Linked DNA regions of Homo sapiens: region 1 is linked to region 2. Evidence: promoter capture Hi-C in human tissues and cell types (Jung and others, 2019). All regions are on one chromosome and are shown on one strand. The core of a region is centred on a gene start or on the middle of the fragment in contact, and the rest is flanking DNA. Distances in the headings are between cores, read along the strand shown.

Evidence for each region. The method cuts DNA at HindIII sites, captures the fragments that hold promoters and counts their contacts. A contact is called where the count stands out against the background at its distance.
Region 1: a contact is called between a fragment that was not itself captured here and the fragment with the promoter of PGBD5 in region 2, in 1 of the 25 tissues and cell types used here (hippocampus).

The regions. Positions count from the first base shown.
Region 1 is chr1:230,389,630-230,394,132 of GRCh38, reverse strand. All of the region lies in intron 1 of PGBD5 (piggyBac transposable element derived 5), which reads left to right. Among named protein-coding and RNA genes, the nearest start is that of PGBD5, 34 kb to the left of the region's middle. The HindIII fragment of the contact is 5,528 bases long and covers 1-4,503 here.
Region 2 is chr1:230,424,528-230,428,531 of GRCh38, reverse strand. PGBD5 (piggyBac transposable element derived 5) reads left to right here and starts at 2,200. Exons shown (of 7, transcript NM_001258311.2): 1 at 2,200-2,934. The coding sequence starts at 2,604. RefSeq lists enhancers at 1,031-1,577, 1,578-2,125 and a silencer at 1,934-2,253. The HindIII fragment of the contact is 8,713 bases long and covers 1-4,004 here.

The sequences.
Region 1 (4,503 bases), core at 702-3,201, 34 kb after region 2:
CAGGGAGATAAAATAGGCATGGTTTGTTGAATATGAGTATAGGATATGGGGTGGCGTTCTCTGAGGAGCCATAGGTAGAATTTGGATAAAAGAAGTCCATGTTTCTGTAAGATTTGTAGCCCAGTCAGGGGCGGAATGAGCCAGAAGAGTGGGAGAGCTGGAAGCCTGCAGAGGATGCCAGGCCGGGGCAGGTGTGGCGGACTCTAGGGCGGGGAGCCAGTGAGGGAGAGCCTTGCGAAGCCACATGTTTCTAATCAGGCTGTGGACTGGCGGGCCCCGGGCCTATTATTTTTTTTTTTTTTTTTTTTGAGACGGAGTCTCGTTCTGTCGCCCAGGCGGGAGTGCTGTGGCGCGATCTCCGCTCACTGCAAGCTCCGCTTCCCGGGTTCACGCCATTCTCCTGCCTCAGCCTCCCGAGTAGCTGGGACTACAGGCGCCCGCCACTGCGCCCGGCTAATTTTTTGTATTTTTAGTAGAGACGGGGTTTCACCGTGGTCTCGATCTCCTGACCTCATAATCCGCCTGCCTCTGCCTCCCAAAGTGCTGGGATTACAGGCGTGAGCCACCGCGCCCGGCCTATTATTTTCTTTTCTGAGCTCCTTCTGAGGCTCTTAAAGCAGGCGCTAAGATTGGGTGGAAGCCTCTGGCAGCAGAGACCCTCCCGTGTCCTGTGAGAATCTGTGAGTCACCTCCTTAAAGGTGGGATGGTGAAGTGTCCTAGGGTGAGCCTCCTAGAGTCCGCCTGCTCTCCTCCTCCTCGCATCCCCGCCAGTGGTCTCCTGTGTTCAGTGGCTGCACTGGCCCTGAGCACAGCACGCCCCTCCCCCTCCCCTTTCTCTTCTCTTCGCTTTTTCCTCCCTCCTCCTCCCCCTTTTCCCTGCTCTTCTCCCTTCCTTCCTCCTCCTCTCCTCCTTTCCCTTGGCTTCCCTGCCTCCTCCCTCCTCCCCCCCTCCCTTCCCCTTCTCTTCCCTTTTTCCTTCCTCCTCTTCTTCCTCCCCTACCCTTCTTTTTTCCCCTTCCCCTTCTTTTTCCCCTTTCCTCCTTCCTCTTCCTCCTCCGCCTTCCCCTTCCTATCCCTCTCCTCTTTTCCTTCCTTTCTCCCTCTCCCCCTTTCCTTTTCCCTGATTTGCTCCCCCGCCCACCACTGCTCTCCCTTTTCCTCCTCCTCCCCTTCCTGTGCCTCTCCCTCCAGTTCCTCTTCTCTTGCAGCTGGGGTTGGAGAGCTGTCTGCTCCTGCTGCTCCAGGCTCTGGGGCTGAACCCCACGGGGTCTAGTGTGCTGTCAGCCAGGCCTGCCTTCATGCTGCTGGGCTGAACTTTTCTAGCTCAGCCCCTCCAGCTTCCCAGGCCGGAGAGCCAAGCACTGTGGGGCTTGTATCTCCATTGTGAGGTGGACCTCAGGGCCGCACGGGGGATTTCCTTGGGTGAGAGCAGGCCGCTGCTGAGGAGCGGGTGTGGAGCACAGGTTTTGGTGGTGGGAAGTCCTGACAGTCCTCTGGTGAAGGACACGCTTGCAAGGAGCCCCGGAAGGAGGAGAGTCCGGAGGAGGCAGGGGCTGAGCAGCCTCAAAGTTCCAAAGCAGCTGCCCTCCCAGGGCTCCTGCGAGCCGGAGATAAAATAACAAAGCTCGGGTGCTTTATAACTCAGCTTTGGAGGGGGAGAAGATCTGCCTGGAATGAACTGACATCTGAAGGCTTCCTGTCAAGCAGGCCTGTCATCAAAGCCTGGGGCTCATCAGCCGGGCCTCGGGCTCTGGCCTTCCCCAGCTTGATTCTCACCCAATGGGATAGAAGGAGGGGAGACGCAGGGGTACGTGGGGCACAGGCATCCTCTTATCCTGGAGGGATGCCCCTCCAGGGCCGTGGGTCAGTGCTTATCCCCAAAGGACCCGTGACTTTCCCCATGCCTCTCAGGGCAGCCCCGGTGTGGGGGGATGTGGCCAGGAAGCACTGAGGTTATCTGAAGCTGGTGGCAGCTGGGGATCAGCCCCATGACACATGACCAAGGCACTCTTAAGAGAAAAAAATCAAAGCAAGTAGGATTTTCGTTTGGAGATCTGGTAGTGAAGCTTCACAGTCCTAGTAAGCCTCGGTCCAGCCTTTTCCTATGAAAAGTTCATTTCATCTTCTGTTCCTTTCTAACCGCATCATTAAAATGAGCAAACGCCCAGCAGGACTCCTGTGTCGGGCTCCCTTTGGGGGAGAAGGGCAGCTTGGCCCCGTTCTCTGGCGTAGGCTCGGGCCACTGCTGAGCATGGAAGAAAGAAATGCAGCATGGGGCTCGTTTTTTATTGAATTTAACGAAGATCAGTGCCAGGTGTTTGGGGCTGCTTAATAATTATAAAGTCTCTGCTATTTATTGGCTACTAGAAATGGTGAGGAAGAGGTTTATTTTTCTGGAAATAGCATATCCTCCTAAGTGCACCAAAATACAGTAGGAGCTGTGTTTTATGGATGGCCAAATACAGGTCTCTCTCTCCTTGGTACCTCACAGTTTGGTCTTGGAAATTGTTTTACTGCAGGAGGCAAAAGCTTGTCACTGAGGTCTTAAGGTGTGAGGAGGAGGGAGAGGGGTGAGGAGAAAGGGTCTGATTTGACGTTTGCTTTGTGTGTTATACTTTTCCCTGATTCCGGGAAATTTCACACATAAGGTACACCTTAGCATATACCATTTTGTAATGATGCAATTTGAGAAATTCTCTATCCGTAAAACCTCTATTACATCCCTGCAGGGAAGGAGACAGCAAACTCATATTTTTTCCTAGGGGAGAAAATGAGGGGGCAAAATCGGAAAATTGCTAAACTGTAATCCCATGCGCAATTTCTGAATCTTTCCTAAATGTTTTGATGACTAAAAGGAGGGTGAGTTGGGACTATGTCTCAGGCCCTCGGAGATGTTACCATGAAGTCCCCATCTGCTTTGTTCCAGATGTCAGCCACAGCGACAGGCTGGTAGCAGCTCCCTCCCGCCCCACCCCCCACACTCAGGCAAACTGTCCTGCCTCGGTGACATGCCCTGGTGCTTTCCTGATGGACTGAGCTCAGTCGCTATGACTAGTCACTATGAAATGGAGGTGGATAAAAACTGGCAATGAGGCTGGGCGTGGTAGCTCATGACTGTAATCCCAGTACTTTGGGAGGCCAAGGCAGGCAGATCACTTGAGCTCAGGAGTTTGAGACCAGCCTGACCAACATGATGAAACCCTGTCTCTACTAAAAATACAAAAATTAGCTGGCTGTGGTGGTGCGTTCCTGTAATCCTAGCTATTCGGGAGGCTGAGACATGAGAATCGCTTGAACCCAGGAGACAGAGGTTGCAGTGAGCCAAGATCACACTACTGCACTCCAGCCTTTTTTTGAGACTCCATCTCAAAAACAAACAAACAAAAAAAACTGGCAATGAGCCTCTGCTAAAACACACACCCAACAAGTGGGCTTCTTGAGATGTCCCAGGAAGCCTTCCCTGGCCCCATGATTCTGAGCTGCAGGAGCAACCCAGGCTCCCTGGAGTGGGCAGGTAGGGATGGGCGGCAGGGCTTGGAGATGCTACATGTGATTCTGATACCACCTCCACCCTCTGGGTGAGATGCCCGACCTTAGACTTGAGTTTGCCCTCACCCTTTGAAAGCCCACCAGTAACACAACTATTGTCAAACAAATGTAGGCTGATTTGGTTTGCTGCAGCCAGAGAGGATGCACCCCAGAAGAGGGGTGAGATGTTCAGGTGAGGTGAGAGGGGTTGGGAGGAGCCAAGAATGGGGTTTGGGCTTCTGCTGGTGATTCTAAGGAGGGTGTGAGGAAGCTGAAACCAGCTCTGATGGAAGGCTGTGTAGACCCAAAGGCATGGGTGGGTGAGAGAGCATCTGGGTCCCTTTCACCTGGAAGATAGAGGCTCACCATGGAACTGGATTGGCAGCAGTAAAGAAGCAGTGGTCACCCACTTATGGTGGGCAGAGCGAGGGGTATTGAGTTCTTCTGGTTGCAGGGTTCCCCACTCTCTGCTGTGTCCCGCCATGTCACAAAGCAGCCTCGCCTGATGATTGGTACATTTTGGGTCCTATCCCAATCTGACTGGCAGCCTCTAACTCCAGAGCTGTGTTCTCTTTTCTCACCCTCCCACCTTCTGGCTGTGTGATTCAGGCAAGTCACTTATCTTCTTGGCCTCCGTTTCCTCCTTTATAAAAGGGAGGGGAGTGAGGATGATACCTTTTCTGCCCTAGGCAGTGTCACTTTGGGACAGGGTGATGTCCTCAGGTCCCATCCCAAATCATTGCAAACATTCCATTCTTCCACATCCTACACCACCTATACATTCTAAATAGTGTATGAGTTGAGTTGCTGTTGACCAGTTGGCATAAGGCTAAACTTTCTCTATTTTAATGAAACATTTACTAATTGGATTTTTCAACCTACTTTTTATATTATGGGGTTAATACAACCTTATTCCGGGCTTGAACATTTCCACAGCTCTCTCAACTGTATTCTCTGGGTACTGTGCCTGCAGT
Region 2 (4,004 bases), core at 951-3,450:
TCATAATCGTCATTATCAAATAGGAGGATGCCAGCCAGAGGAGAAAGCTTTTGTTTTGCAATTGTTTTGTCCCCTCACTCCTTCTCTTACCACAGTGAGAAGCAGTCATCTGTTTTCAAAGGTTGGAATGTTTTTACTTTTCTTGTTTGGAAACTGGCTTAAACAAATGTAAGTGCTATAAAATACTTCACTCTAAGTTGAAATATTCATCTAATTTTTATTGGACAAGCTTTGAAGTAACAATTTGACTTCTCAGTGTTTCTTTTGTGTCCATATAATCCTCTCCTCAGTGTTGCATGTGGTGTGAGCTACAAGCATTTGTGAGCCTAGGAAGCACAAGGCCCCAAGGTTTCCTGGGAATTAGCACCATACAAATGCAAATTAGGGACACCGGAAGACTCTGTCCATCCTTGCCACTGCTGTTGTTTTGTTCCTTGGTTCCTTATGGGTAGCAAAGCAATTCATCGTTTTTAAAACACGTACCTTAGCTGTTGACTTTTTCATTGGCTAGCTGGAGAAGAAAAGAAGGAACTCTTTCCTACAGATTTTAACTCTCTGAATCCCATTCAATTATTTTTTCCATTCAACTATTTAAAATAGATAACATGAAATCTTGCAGGAGCCTCACACAATTCCTAATTGCAGAATTTGAACTTGAGCTATGGAGTCTTACTCTTCTTCTTGCATCTTCAACCTATGCTTTACTATCACCCTTTTTGATAAGTCAGATTACCTGTACTCTCTTCAACAACTTTCAGCTGGTTAGCACAGTATATAGGTATGTTGGAAACCAGATATTTTCCGTGGCATAATTCTTCCAAGAGAGTAAAAATGCTTTGCAAGCACTTCCTCATTTTTCAGCCAATCCACATAGCAAGGAAAGTTCCATGAATCTTTTCCTTTTTATATATTGTCTGTTAGTGATGATCATGAACCTATGCCTGTGCAGAGCCCCTGATGTGGAAGGAGGAACCACAGGGGCTGGGGAGGGGAGGGCATGAGTGAAGGTTCCTGCTCGACACTAGAAGTGACCCCACTTGGCGGCAAAATGGTCCTTCATCCTTTATGCATTCGTAGAAATCGCAACATGCCTTTCTGTTTCATGTAACTACAATTTAGTTAATGCTCAGTAGGATTTGTAAGCCCTTCACATCTCTGAGGATTTATTTTATTTCAGAGTGAAAGTGACTTTATGGCCCATTTACCATTAGTGTGACTTATTGCATTATTCGAAGGAGGAGGAGGGGAGCAAGAAGACAAGGCAGTCTCCGTTACGCGTATCGCCATCAACAGGATGACCACCACACATTCCTGCCCAAGGAAGAGGGGCGGATGCAACCTTTCTGTGCTATTGTTTATGAGAGCACTGAAGCCTGGGTGATCATGCAATATTTCAGTACATGAGTGTTTCAAGTGTGTGTGTGAAGGAGATATTAAAATAGAGGTGTGAGAGTAATTAGTATTTGGAAGTAATGGATATTTTGAGTTCAAAAGATGCCACACGTCAACGATGATGAGGAATGACTAGCTACTTAACTCCAGTGCTGGCACCCTTAAATTACAGGGATACTGAAGCGAGACGGAGTTAGCATCTGACCAGCGACCAACAGTGGACCGGCGAGGCGGGCTCCTAATTAGAGCGAGATTCCCAGAAGCTGGACAGCCCCTGTATTTATGGGAGCATGCGGCGCAGCTGGCAGTGACCCCCAGGAAACCTCGGCAGCAGCCGCCGCCGCGGGTGTGGTGACCTCGGGCCCGCCGCCTACCTGGAGCGTTTCGGCGGCGCCTGGTTCAGAACCACCGGGGCGGACAGCTCCCTGGAGCTGCACGCGGACTGCGGAAGGGGACAGTGAGCGGGATCGGCCCGCACTCCGTCCGCGGGCCCGGACCGCTGGAAGCACCCGGGTCCCCCTCCCCTCCTGTTCCCCGGTCCCGCCCTCCCCCTCCCGCGCTGCGCGTGGCGGTCCCGGGCTGCGCGTCCCTGTAGGAGGAGACCGGCACTGCCGCCGGCGGCCCTCCCCCTAACCGCCAGCCCCGGCCGCGCGCCCCGCCCCGCCCCGCGGAGGAGGGTGGGGGCGTTCCCCGCGCCGGGCCCGCCCAGCTCCCCCGCGGCTGTCCGGGCCGGGCTCCCCATTGGCCGGCGGGCGGGAGGTGAGGGGCGGCAGGGCCCGCCTCTGGCGGCTCGCGCCCGGGAAGGTCGGCAGCCGAGCGCCGGAGGCCGTGGAGAGGGCGGGCAGGGAGGCGGCGGGCGCCGAGGAGACGCAGCGGCGGCGGTGGTGGCGGTGGTGGCGGCGGTGGCGGCGGCGGCGCCTGGTCTCGGCCGCAGCCTCTGCGTCCCGCCCGCTCTGGGTCGCCCCTGCCAGCCCCGCGCGCGGCTCGCCTCCCGCCGCGGCCCGCAGCCTGCGGCGCCCGAGCTCCGAGGGCGCTTCCCCGGGCGCTGGGCCCGAGGCGGCCAAGACGGCGGGCCGGCCGGGCACGGGGCGGCGGGCGCTGTGCTGCGGGCTGCGCTGGTGGGGGGCGGCGGGCCGCGGCGCGGGCCCAGGGCCCGGCGTGTGCGGCTGGGAGGCACTGTGGGGGCGGGCGCGCGGGCGGCGGCCGGGGCCATGGCCGAGGGCGGCGGGGGCGCGCGGAGGAGGGCGCCGGCGCTGCTCGAGGCTGCCCGCGCGCGCTACGAGAGCCTGCACATCTCGGACGACGTGTTCGGCGAGTCCGGCCCGGACAGCGGCGGGAACCCCTTCTACAGCACCTCGGCCGCCTCGCGCTCCTCCTCGGCCGCCTCCTCGGACGACGAGCGCGAGCCCCCGGGACCCCCAGGGGCCGCCCCGCCACCGCCCCGCGCCCCGGACGCACAGGAGCCGGAGGAGGACGAGGCCGGCGCGGGCTGGAGCGCAGCGCTGCGGGACCGCCCGCCCCCGCGCTTCGAGGATACCGGCGGTAAGGGGCTGCCCGCGGGTGGATGTCGGGGGCGGCGCTGGAACCGGGCGCGGGGGAGGCGTGGGTGCTGGGGCGGGCGAGTCCAGACTCTCCGTGGGCTGGCTTGTGGGTGTCTCTCCGGAAACAAATGAGGCTGCAGGAGCGGTGATCGGTCTGACTGCTCCTGGGGGCTCCGAACCCGTGGGTGGAGAGGGTAAGGCGGAGGCCGTGGCCAGCACTTTTCCAGTGACAATGTCGTCGGGGACCTTTTCCTTCACTTCCTGGGAGCACCCCAGCCCCTGCATGGGAAGTCTGTCACACCTGTGGGTCGGACTTTTAGGGGTGGATTGAAGTTAGGCTTTCCTAGTTGAGGGGGCTTTTCTGAAAGCCCGGCGTGGCTGGTGGAGGCAGGGGGAGTCGTTTTTTCACTGACAGCCCAAGAGCAAGCCTTACAGCAGGTGACGCGGGCGAGGCAGGTAGGAGTTGGCCCAGTGAGAGTTGAGAGAGAGGCCACCCGCGGCGTCTTGACTTGGCTTAGTTTTCTCCTTAATCTGAGAAACTTTCCCTGTCCGCGCCATTCCAGATCTCTTGTTAAGAATGGGGAGGAGTGAAGGAAGGGACCGATTGGGCAGCGTTAAGGTGCTTGCTTTTCCGCCAGAAGGTACTTTCAGGTGTGTCCTGCTTACCACTGTGGCCACAGACAAGCCCCGAATACCTGGAGAAGGTGGCTAGGGTGCTGGCAGCTGCGGCTGCCCCACTCCTCTTCACTGTCTGTTTTTGTGGGAGTTGGCTGTTGAAATATCACCACTTCCTCTGCAGAAGCTCCGCAGCCTCTGCCTTCTTTGAAAGCTGCAGACCAGCCGCCCTCTCATGCTGGTATTTCTTGTTCCACGGCCTTCTGTAGCAGGCCCGTGCTCCTGCATGCTGTGTTCTTCCGTAGAAGTGCGCGCAACCGGTGTTGATGAGGGCCAGGGAGTGGCCGCGGTGGGCATGATGCGGCTTTTCCTGTGGCCTTCTCTGATTATTGTTCAACCGGTCAGGAACACGGCACATGGGAAGGCAGGCCCAAGGGACCTCCAGCTGGTGCCTGG